Linked DNA regions of Homo sapiens: all the other regions are linked to region 2. The links are contacts of gene promoters, found by promoter capture Hi-C in blood cells and fetal thymus (Javierre and others, 2016). All regions are on one chromosome and are shown on one strand. The core of a region is centred on a gene start or on the middle of the fragment in contact, and the rest is flanking DNA. Distances in the headings are between cores, read along the strand shown.

Evidence for each region. The method cuts DNA at HindIII sites, captures the fragments that hold promoters and counts their contacts. A CHiCAGO score of 5 or more calls a contact.
Region 1: the fragment with the promoter of PWAR4 here is called in contact with the fragment with the promoter of NPAP1 in region 2 in 6 of 17 cell types (total B cells, activated CD4 T cells, naive B cells and 3 more); the score reaches 6.5 in total B cells.
Region 3: a fragment that was not itself captured here is called in contact with the fragment with the promoter of NPAP1 in region 2 in 1 of 17 cell types (M2 macrophages); the score reaches 5.1 in M2 macrophages.

The regions. Positions count from the first base shown.
Region 1 is chr15:25,210,177-25,213,044 of GRCh38, forward strand. It overlaps PWAR4 (Prader Willi/Angelman region RNA 4), which reads left to right and starts at 1,516. Exons shown (of 1, transcript NR_022010.1): 1 at 1,516-1,857. It overlaps SNHG14 (small nucleolar RNA host gene 14), which reads left to right. Exons shown (of 148, transcript NR_146177.1): 102 at 1,431-1,562; 103 at 1,948-1,993. It overlaps SNORD115-23 (small nucleolar RNA, C/D box 115-23), which reads left to right and starts at 1,620; the gene lies at 1,620-1,701. The HindIII fragment of the contact is 4,906 bases long and covers 1-2,868 here.
Region 2 is chr15:24,674,341-24,677,105 of GRCh38, forward strand. It overlaps NPAP1 (nuclear pore associated protein 1), which reads left to right and starts at 1,435. Exons shown (of 1, transcript NM_018958.3): 1 at 1,435-2,765. The coding sequence starts at 1,528. The HindIII fragment of the contact is 3,995 bases long and covers 1-2,765 here.
Region 3 is chr15:25,500,972-25,503,829 of GRCh38, forward strand. LINC02250 (long intergenic non-protein coding RNA 2250) reads right to left here. Exons shown (of 5, transcript NR_187215.1): 4 at 114-281. Among named protein-coding and RNA genes, the nearest start is that of UBE3A, 63 kb to the left of the region's middle. The HindIII fragment of the contact is 2,409 bases long and covers 51-2,459 here.

The sequences.
Region 1 (2,868 bases), core at 266-2,765, 540 kb after region 2:
GTTTCCCAGGGGCAGGGCACATTGGTGGCTTTTCCCTGAGTCCCCATTCTTGCCTTGTGTCTTTCAGTGAGCTCTTCAGCTCAGAAGGGCCCCTTCACCTTGATTAGCCTAGGTGAGTGCATCCTGCTGGTGTCATGGGCCATGAGTCAGGCCGCGTGGGGTCACCAAGGGTCAGTCTTTAGGACAGGAGGGTTTCCTCAGGGAGCCAACCTGTATTTCCACCGGGGAGGGATGGTTTCTACAGGAGGGCGGCTTCCTTGGGAACTGGACCCAAGATGTTGCCTTCCTGAAGCCCTGCAGGGATGACAGTGGTCCAGGCAGCAAAGACTTCCTTCAGCCCCGTGCAGGAGAGCTCCCAGCTGAGACTCAGTGCATGTGTCAGGCCTCGAGGATTGCCGAGGCCACATGATGGGGGCCACAGGGCCTCCGGGGCACCACGGGGGTCATGCAAGAGTTCTCTTTCCCTGGAGAGGGGTGCTTGAATGAGCCTATGGGATTGGGCCGTGGAGATTCAAGGATTGTACCCAACTATGTCCCAAAATGGGACTGACCCTGTTGAGCTATGGACCATCCCATGGTGCCTCTTTGAGCTTGGTGGGGGGCAGTGCTGTTTCCCTGGGTTTGGGTCAAGGCTGAGCTCTGGCCAGTGCCTGGTGAGGCTGTGGGCCGGACCTGGGACTCGTGAGCTTTAGGCCAAGTCGACAGCTTGTGTCCTGCTGGAGGTCACCCCTTCCCCATGGGTGAGTGGCTGGAAGAGTGGAATGTGCGGTGGGAAGGCCCGCTGTTGATGGTCCTATCCTGAGAATTTGCTGCCCAGACTCTCTGTGCCATGGGGTCATGTCCAGGGTGGCAGGGTCTTGGGCCTAGGGAAAGGAAAGGACACCATGTGGCCCAGGATTGGCCAAGGGTGGCCCGGATCTGTGTTTGGGACATGTGTGGGGCATGGATGGGGACCCACCAGAGAAAGCACATGGCCCTGGTACTCCAGGCTGTGATTTCAGGTGTGGCTTGGAGAGAGTGCCTGGGCAGGTGCCCACCATGCCCAGCGGCAGGCTATGCAACTTCCATGTCCACGGTGGCACATGGCTTCTGGGCCAGGCTCCTCGGTTGGCCATGAGCATGTCGGTGACCCTGTCCCATGCTCAGTGGTCCTGGGGCAGCCCTGGGATCGTGTGAAGGAGAAGTCAGAGGGGGCACTGGATGTGCCCTCAAGGTCTGCAATAGCATGAAGACCAGGGGTCTTGCCCAAGCCCAGTGATCCACCTGCCCTGTTTTTTCAGGGTTTGGTGATGGGGAGGGCCGAGAGTGCCCTGTATCCGTGACAGGTCAGTGTTCCACATGGATCCCATCACATGGGTATCCCTTACCCCATTCCCCACCTGGAGGTATGAGGCCCTGTTTGGACACATGTCCTCCTCCTGTCCATCCAGATGGTGAGCCTGAAGGAAGACTTGCATCAGGACCAATGGACCCTGGCAAGTGTCCGTCAGCCAGGTGCTCAGCCCCTGGTGCACTGAAGCTCAGGCCCTTCCTGGCCCCTTGATCTCCTGCACTGAGCTGTGGTGAGCACATCCGGGTCCCGCTGGATGTATGTGTGGGCAGGGGGGGTGCCCTGGGTTGGGTCAATGATGAGAACCCTATATTGTGTTGAAGAGAGGTGATGACTTAAAATTACCATGCTCAATGATTACGCTGAGGCCCAACCTAGGTGAGAAATTTGGAGGAGGATGCTGGGATCCCGAGATTTCCGGCAGGGCCACTGTATTTTGGGCTGGAGCCCTGGAGGCCCTGAAAGGTATCTGGAGGAGGCCCAACTCTGTCTCTGCACTCCTCTGTGAGGCAGCCCAGGCTCCCTGTGCGGGCTTGGTGTTGGCCTTTCTGTTCCCCAGTGAAGTGGCACGTGGGTGGCTCCTCCCTGAGCCCCAGTTCTCCCCTTGTGTCTTTCAGTGAGCTCTTCTGCCAAGGGGGGGCCTCCTGGCATTGACCAACATAGGTGAGTGGATCCTGCTGGCATCATGGGCATGGGTTCACTGAGGGTCAGACTTCAGGCCATGAGGGTTTCCTCAGGGAGCTGACCCCAATTCCCATCAGGGAGGGATGGTTTCTCCAGGAGGGCGGCTTCCTTGGGAATCTTACCTGAGGAGGATGCCTTCCCTGAAGATCTGCAGGAATGACAATGGTCCAGATAGCAAAGGGTTCCTTCAGCCCCATGCAGGACATCGCCCAGTTGAGACTTGGTGTGCAGGTCAGGCCTTGAGGACTGCCCAGGCCACATGAGGCGGGCCAGAAGGGCTCCAGGGTGCCACGGGTTTCACTTGGGAGCTCTCGGTCCCCGGGCATGTTCCTGGGGGGGGTGGTGATGGGGTCGGGCCATGGAGGTTCAAGGATCTCATCCCACCTGTGACCCTGAATGGGGCTGATCCTGTTGAACAATGGGCCATCCCAGTGGCACGTATTGAGCCTGGTCAGGGGTGGTGCAGTTTCAATGGGGTTGGGTCAAGGTTGAGATCTGGCCAGCTCCTGGTGGTGCTTCAGGCCAGTCCTGTGACCCATGGGCTTTGGGCTAAGGGGGCATCCCATGTCCCATGGGGGTCACCTGTTCTCCATGTTTGAGTGGCAGTAACAGTGGCATTCTGAGGTGGGAAGGTCCACTGTCTAGGGTGTTGTACCGGGAATTTGCCACCCCGCCTTCTTAGCCAAGGGGTCACCTCCAGGGTCTCGGGATCTTGGGCCCAAGGAAACGAGAAGATACCATGTGGCCCTTGATTGGCCGAGTGTGGCCCAGCTCTGTGTTTGAGAGGTGTGGGATATGAATGGGGTCCCACCAGTGAAAGCTCATGGCCCAGGTCCCCAGGCTGTGATTTTTAG
Region 2 (2,765 bases), core at 185-2,684:
CATTGCTCCACTACTGACTTGCAAATACATGATGAATTTGCTTTCTAACATATTCCAAGAAGGCCAGAGAACTGGCTTATCCATTTGGATTAATCCACTGGTGAATTTCTTTCGGGATAGGCCAAAATGGATCTGGACTATAATCTTTACATATTTAGATCCTTCAAACTAGACCAAAAAGGAAATCTGGGCTGCAAGGCTCAATTAGAAGAACAGTGTGGGATGCTGCTTTGCTGACTATTGGGGGTCGCTGCCCCATGTCTTCAGAGGAGACTGGAGCCCAGTGCCTGCCATGACCAACTTATGAGGTGAAGTAAGGGCTTCCCCCTAGGAACGCATGTGCTTAATACAGATGTGCTGTGTGCTAGGTACCCTAAGGACTACAGGAAATAATGAGAATACATGATGTGTCCATAACAAGGAGGCACACAGGCCACGGCACCAGCTCTGGAATCACACAGCCCAGGTTCGAAGCCTGGCTAGGCCACTGTCATATCAATGACCCAAGGAGCAAGCAGCCTAAGGCTTAAATGTTGTTGCTGTTGTTTGTTGTGGTTTTTTGTTTTTGTTTTTGTTTGAGACAAGAGTTTTGCTCTGTTCCCCCAGGCTGGAGTGCAGTGAGGTGATCTCAGCTCACTGCAACCTCCACCTCCCGCTTTCAAGCGATTCTCCTGCCTCAGCCTCCCTAGTAGCTGGGATTACAAGTGCGTGCCACCACGCTCAGTTAATTTTTGTATTTTTAGTAGAGATGGGGTTTCACCATGGTGGTCAGGCTGGTCTCGAACTCCTGACCTCAGGTGATCCACCCGCCTTGGCCTCCCAAAGTGCTGGGATTAAAGGCGTGAGCCACCGCGCCCAGCCTTAAATGTTGTTTAAAACAAATTTGTGAAAAGAAGTGAAGAGGCCCTGCCTGCCAGGAAGAGATGTGGTAGGGCGTAGCATCTAGTCAGGACAAGGCACCACGTCCCCTCCTCGGAAACCCTCACGGCCTGGCTGGTGACCCTGGCGCCACAGAGACGGCACACCTGGCTCCAGGCAGCACAGAGCACTGCCAAGGTCCTAGAGGAGGCTGGCAGGATATAGGTTGTCCTGTGCTTAACTTGAAGCAGATGTGCCCTCTGTGAACCGGGGAATGGGGACGGCCGACACAGGGCCACTGCGTGCAACAGCGCCGGGCCAGGGCTAAGGAACAGGCAGAGCCGGCGCCCAGGTGACAAGAGCTCTGGCGATGGGCCCGCAGGCCCCAGCAGTTCCCTCATAGAGGCCACGCGGTGCAACACCTGCCACCGGCAGCGGGGCTTCCGGGGGTCCTGGGGCAGCTGGGGCCGACGGGGCGTCGCCCTTTGCCCTCTGACCCCTGCCTTTTGCGCCCCCGCTGGCGCTCCCTGGTTCTGTGAGGAACCTCGCGGCGGCGTCGCAGGCGTAGAGCCAGTCAGTTTGTGCTTGGTCGCCAGAGGAGGCGGTGGCTGAGGAGAGTTGAGTCCACTGCTGACCCTGTTTTACGGTAGGAGGCACGGCTAGCTCTAAATGGGCAATTTACTTAGTAAATTTAGACCCGGGTGCCGCCGCCGGCCCCTGCCAGGGCCAGGGCGTGGCGCCCCCGCTCCCCTGTCCCGGGACGCCTCCCCGCCCGGTCGGGCTCACTCTGTACCCACCCCGCGCCCTTTCCGCGGCCTGTTCCGCCGGAACGCCCGTCGCAGGCCTTCAGCAGCCAGCATCTTCGTCGCCCCTAAGAGGCCGTGTCCTCTCCCTCGGGCTGCGGCCGCCCCTCTGGGGGTCCTGCCGGCTGTGGGTTGGGGGCTGGCCATCAGGAAGACACCCATGCTGCCTGCTCGGAACCCCCCGAGGTTTGGACACCCCAGTTCCGTAAGGATCCCTCCTCCCAGCCGCATGTTCACTCTCCTGCTGCCTTCACCACGTGAGCCGGCGGTCAAGGCCAGGAAGCCCATCCCAGCCACTCTCCTGGAGGAGACCGAGGTGTGGGCCCAAGAAGGGCCCAGAAGAGTGAAGAAGGATGAGGATCCGGTGCAGATCGAAGGGGAGGATGACGAGAAAAGGACCCCCCTTAGCAGCGGAGAAGCATCGTCCACATCCAGGTCCCAGGGCACCCAGGGAGACGTGGCCTCCTTCAGATGCAGCCCTGGGCCTCTGGAGGGAAATGTCTACCACAAGTTCTCAGAAAACAGCATGAGTGAGAAGGCCCAGGCGTCTCCAGCGAGCTCCTGCTTGGAAGGCCCTGCCATGCCCAGCACACACAGCCAGGCCGGATGTGCCCGGCATCTTGGAAAGCCTGATCCGGATGCAACAGCGCCCCCTGAGCCAGCCGTTGGCTGCTCCCTGCTGCAGCAGAAGTTGGCTGCGGAAGTGCTGAATGAAGAGCCACCGCCCAGCTCCCTAGGCTTGCCGATTCCGCTGATGTCCGGAAAGAGGATGCCTGATGAGAAGCCTTTCTGTATTCCTCCAAGGAGCGCTGCTCCTCCCAGAGCTGCCCGCAACAGGCCCTGCAAAAGGAAAATGTCGATTCCATTGCTGCTGCCGCTGCCCCCTTCACTGCCATTGCTGTGGGATCGAGGTGAGCTTCCCCCACCTGCTAAGCTCCCCTGCCTGTCTGTTGAGGGAGACCTACACACCTTGGAGAAGAGCCCTGAGTATAAAAGGAATAGCAGAATCTTGGAGGATAAAACAGAGACCATGACAAACAGCAGCATCACCCAGCCTGCCCCTTCTTTCTCCCAACCTGTGCAGACCACAGACTCCCTGCCCCT
Region 3 (2,858 bases), core at 5-2,504, 830 kb after region 2:
GGACATATCACTTTTTCCCCCACAACTATCACAACAGTCACCAAAAACCAAGCTTTGCAAAGATATGACATCATGGAAGGAAATTTAGCAACCTAATGTTAAAACCAATTTACCTGGAGCTAGCAGTTCCTGAGATGTCCGACAGGCATCCTTGTGTTCTCCTCAAGTATTTAAAAATACCCAGGCACTTCTGCGAGTCCCTTGAGGTGCCTGCCCCTCTGCCTGTTTATGCAAAGCAATGTCCGCTTGCTGGTGGACAGGTCCAGGCAGTGCTTTTTCCTCTGCGCGATATTAGATATGCAGAAAATCATGGATAGGAAGTGCCAAGGAAAAAACGGGGGATAAAAATAGAATGAACCAAAAAAGGAGCTCAAGAAATGTATTTTTAATGCAGTGCCACAAAAATAAGCTCATATTTTACTATGTATTTGACATCAGAATACAATTACAACTGACATCAATTATGTTCTCTATTAGACTTTTCTCTACCTTATACATTTAAGTGTAATCCCAAATGGGGAGAGAACCAGTGCTTTTTAATATAGGTGCTTTCTCAATTTGAAAACTAGAATGGAAGTCATGTTCAGAAGTGTAAAGAATTCTAAGAATTAGGTGGTGGATAAAAGATTGTTAGCAACCAAGAGGTTCCGTTATTTTTTACTTCAAGAATGCTGGTATGTGGAAAATGGAAACCATATTCAACCACTCACTTAAGTTAGCTAAACCCAACATATTACAGCAATTATTAACCCTCTTTCATCTTTCTAATAACAAGACACAAAAATAGTTATAATTTGTAATCAGTAACATGTCATTAGAGGGCTGTTAGTTGATTTTATCTACCAGTGCTTAGGTAGATGGGTTTTGTTGTTGTTTGAATTTCATGTTAATTCAAACGGAATGAAAACTTGGTTTTTGATGAGGACAGAAAGATTTTACATCTCATTTCACTGGTTCTTTTTTCTTCTGAACGTTGGACTTCTATGTGCTTATTTAAAAAAATATGTGGCTACTGCCATCTGTTGGATGGAATGTGAGTCCTGCTCAGACACGTGTGCCCTTTAAACAATGTCTGTCCCTTCTAACTTCACAAGTGTCTCCTCAAGGTAAGGAGACACTTACCTTGAGTGTCTCCTCAAGGTAAGGCCTTTGCTGTAGCTGCATGCATCCCAGCTTCCAGCCCCAGAACTGAGTTCATTTTGGGAACGTTTTCTATTGTTGTGGGGCACTTTCTCTTCAGACATGTAAATGCTCTCTACTGAAGAGTGTGTATATGGTTTTTTATCTTTCCAGTAAAACTTACAGCATAAGGAGGCATGTCGGGGTAGGGAGGGATGTGGCTGGGAGCATGTTTAGGAACAAGCATATTTTTAGCATGGGTAGTAGAGTCTACATTGGACTAATATAGGCAGAGGAATCAAAGTTCAGCTCTAAATTGTGGTGCATACTGAGGCCACTGATTTTATTTCTCTGAGCTGGCATTTCGTCAGCTGTAAGGCAAGAGCAGGACTAGGACTGAGAAAATCTTCTGAGCTGAAGACCCACGCAGCTCTAAGGAGTCATAGTCAAGAACAGCAGACATAACAGCAAATACGAATTTAAGAAATGCCAGTCTAAAAGCACATAAGAACCAATCTACAGGTTATGGGAAACCCATTTTATCTGACTCCCTTCTCTCCCGCTCCTGGGTTCTTATTTTTCTGCTTTTCTTGGGCTCTGATTGTCAGCATCCTCTCTCCTCACCCCTCCCACTCTTTCTTTGTGGAGGGACTGTTCCCTCTCCACTCCCATTGGGCTTTTTTCTTAGTCCTCCCCTCCTCCTCCAGCCCTCAGTCTCGGATGTCTCTGCGCACCTGCCGATTCCGCATTACAAAATTCCAAGAACCGGTCTTAGAAAAACCATCTCTTCTCTGAGGTAGGAAACACATGAAGCTGAACTAGGCAGCACACACTTTGTGTGTGTCCTAGACCAATACACACACACACACACACACACACACACACACACACACACACAGAGCCAAGCACTTCTGGCAGCAAAAGCCTTAAACCCTGTGCATGAATTACTGTGTCCAAGCATTGGTTCCTTCCGGTGGGTTCTTGATGTCGCTGACTTTTAAGAACGAAGCCCCCTACCCTCATGGTGAGTGTTACAGTTCTTAAACATGGTGTGTCAAGAGTTTGTACCACCACATGCTCAGATGTGTCCAAAGTTTCTTCCTTCTGCTGGGTTCGTCGTCTCACTGACTTCAGGAGCGATGCCACAAACCTTCACAGTGAGTGTTAACGCTCTTAAAGGTGGCGCCTACGGAGTCGTTCATTCTGGTGGACTCGTGGTCTCACCGGCTTCAAGAGCAAAGCCAGCTGCAGACCTTCCAAGGGAATGTTACAGCTCTTAACGTATTGTGGACCCACAAAGCGAGCAACAGCAAAATCTATTGCAAATAGCGAAAAATCAAAGCTTCCACACTGTGGAAACTAACCCAACCCACTTGCTGCTGCTGGCTCGGGTTGCCAACTTTTATTCCCTTATTTGGCCCCACCCACATCCTGCTGATTGTTCCATGTTACAGAGAGCTGATTGGTCCATTTTACAGAAAGCTGATTGGTCTGTTTTACAGAGTGCTGATTGGTCCGTTTTTACAGCATGCTGATTGGTGCGTTTATAAACCTTTAGCTAGACACAGACTGCTGATTGGTGCATTTACAATCCTTTAGCTAGACAGAAAAGTTCTCCAAGTCCCGACTGACTCAGAAGCCCAGCCGGCTTCACCTATCAATATGACTGCAGTGCCTATAGCTGAATTCACTGGTTAGGGAGTGTACAATGGAATTTTGTCCCTTGAATTGGGGATGTT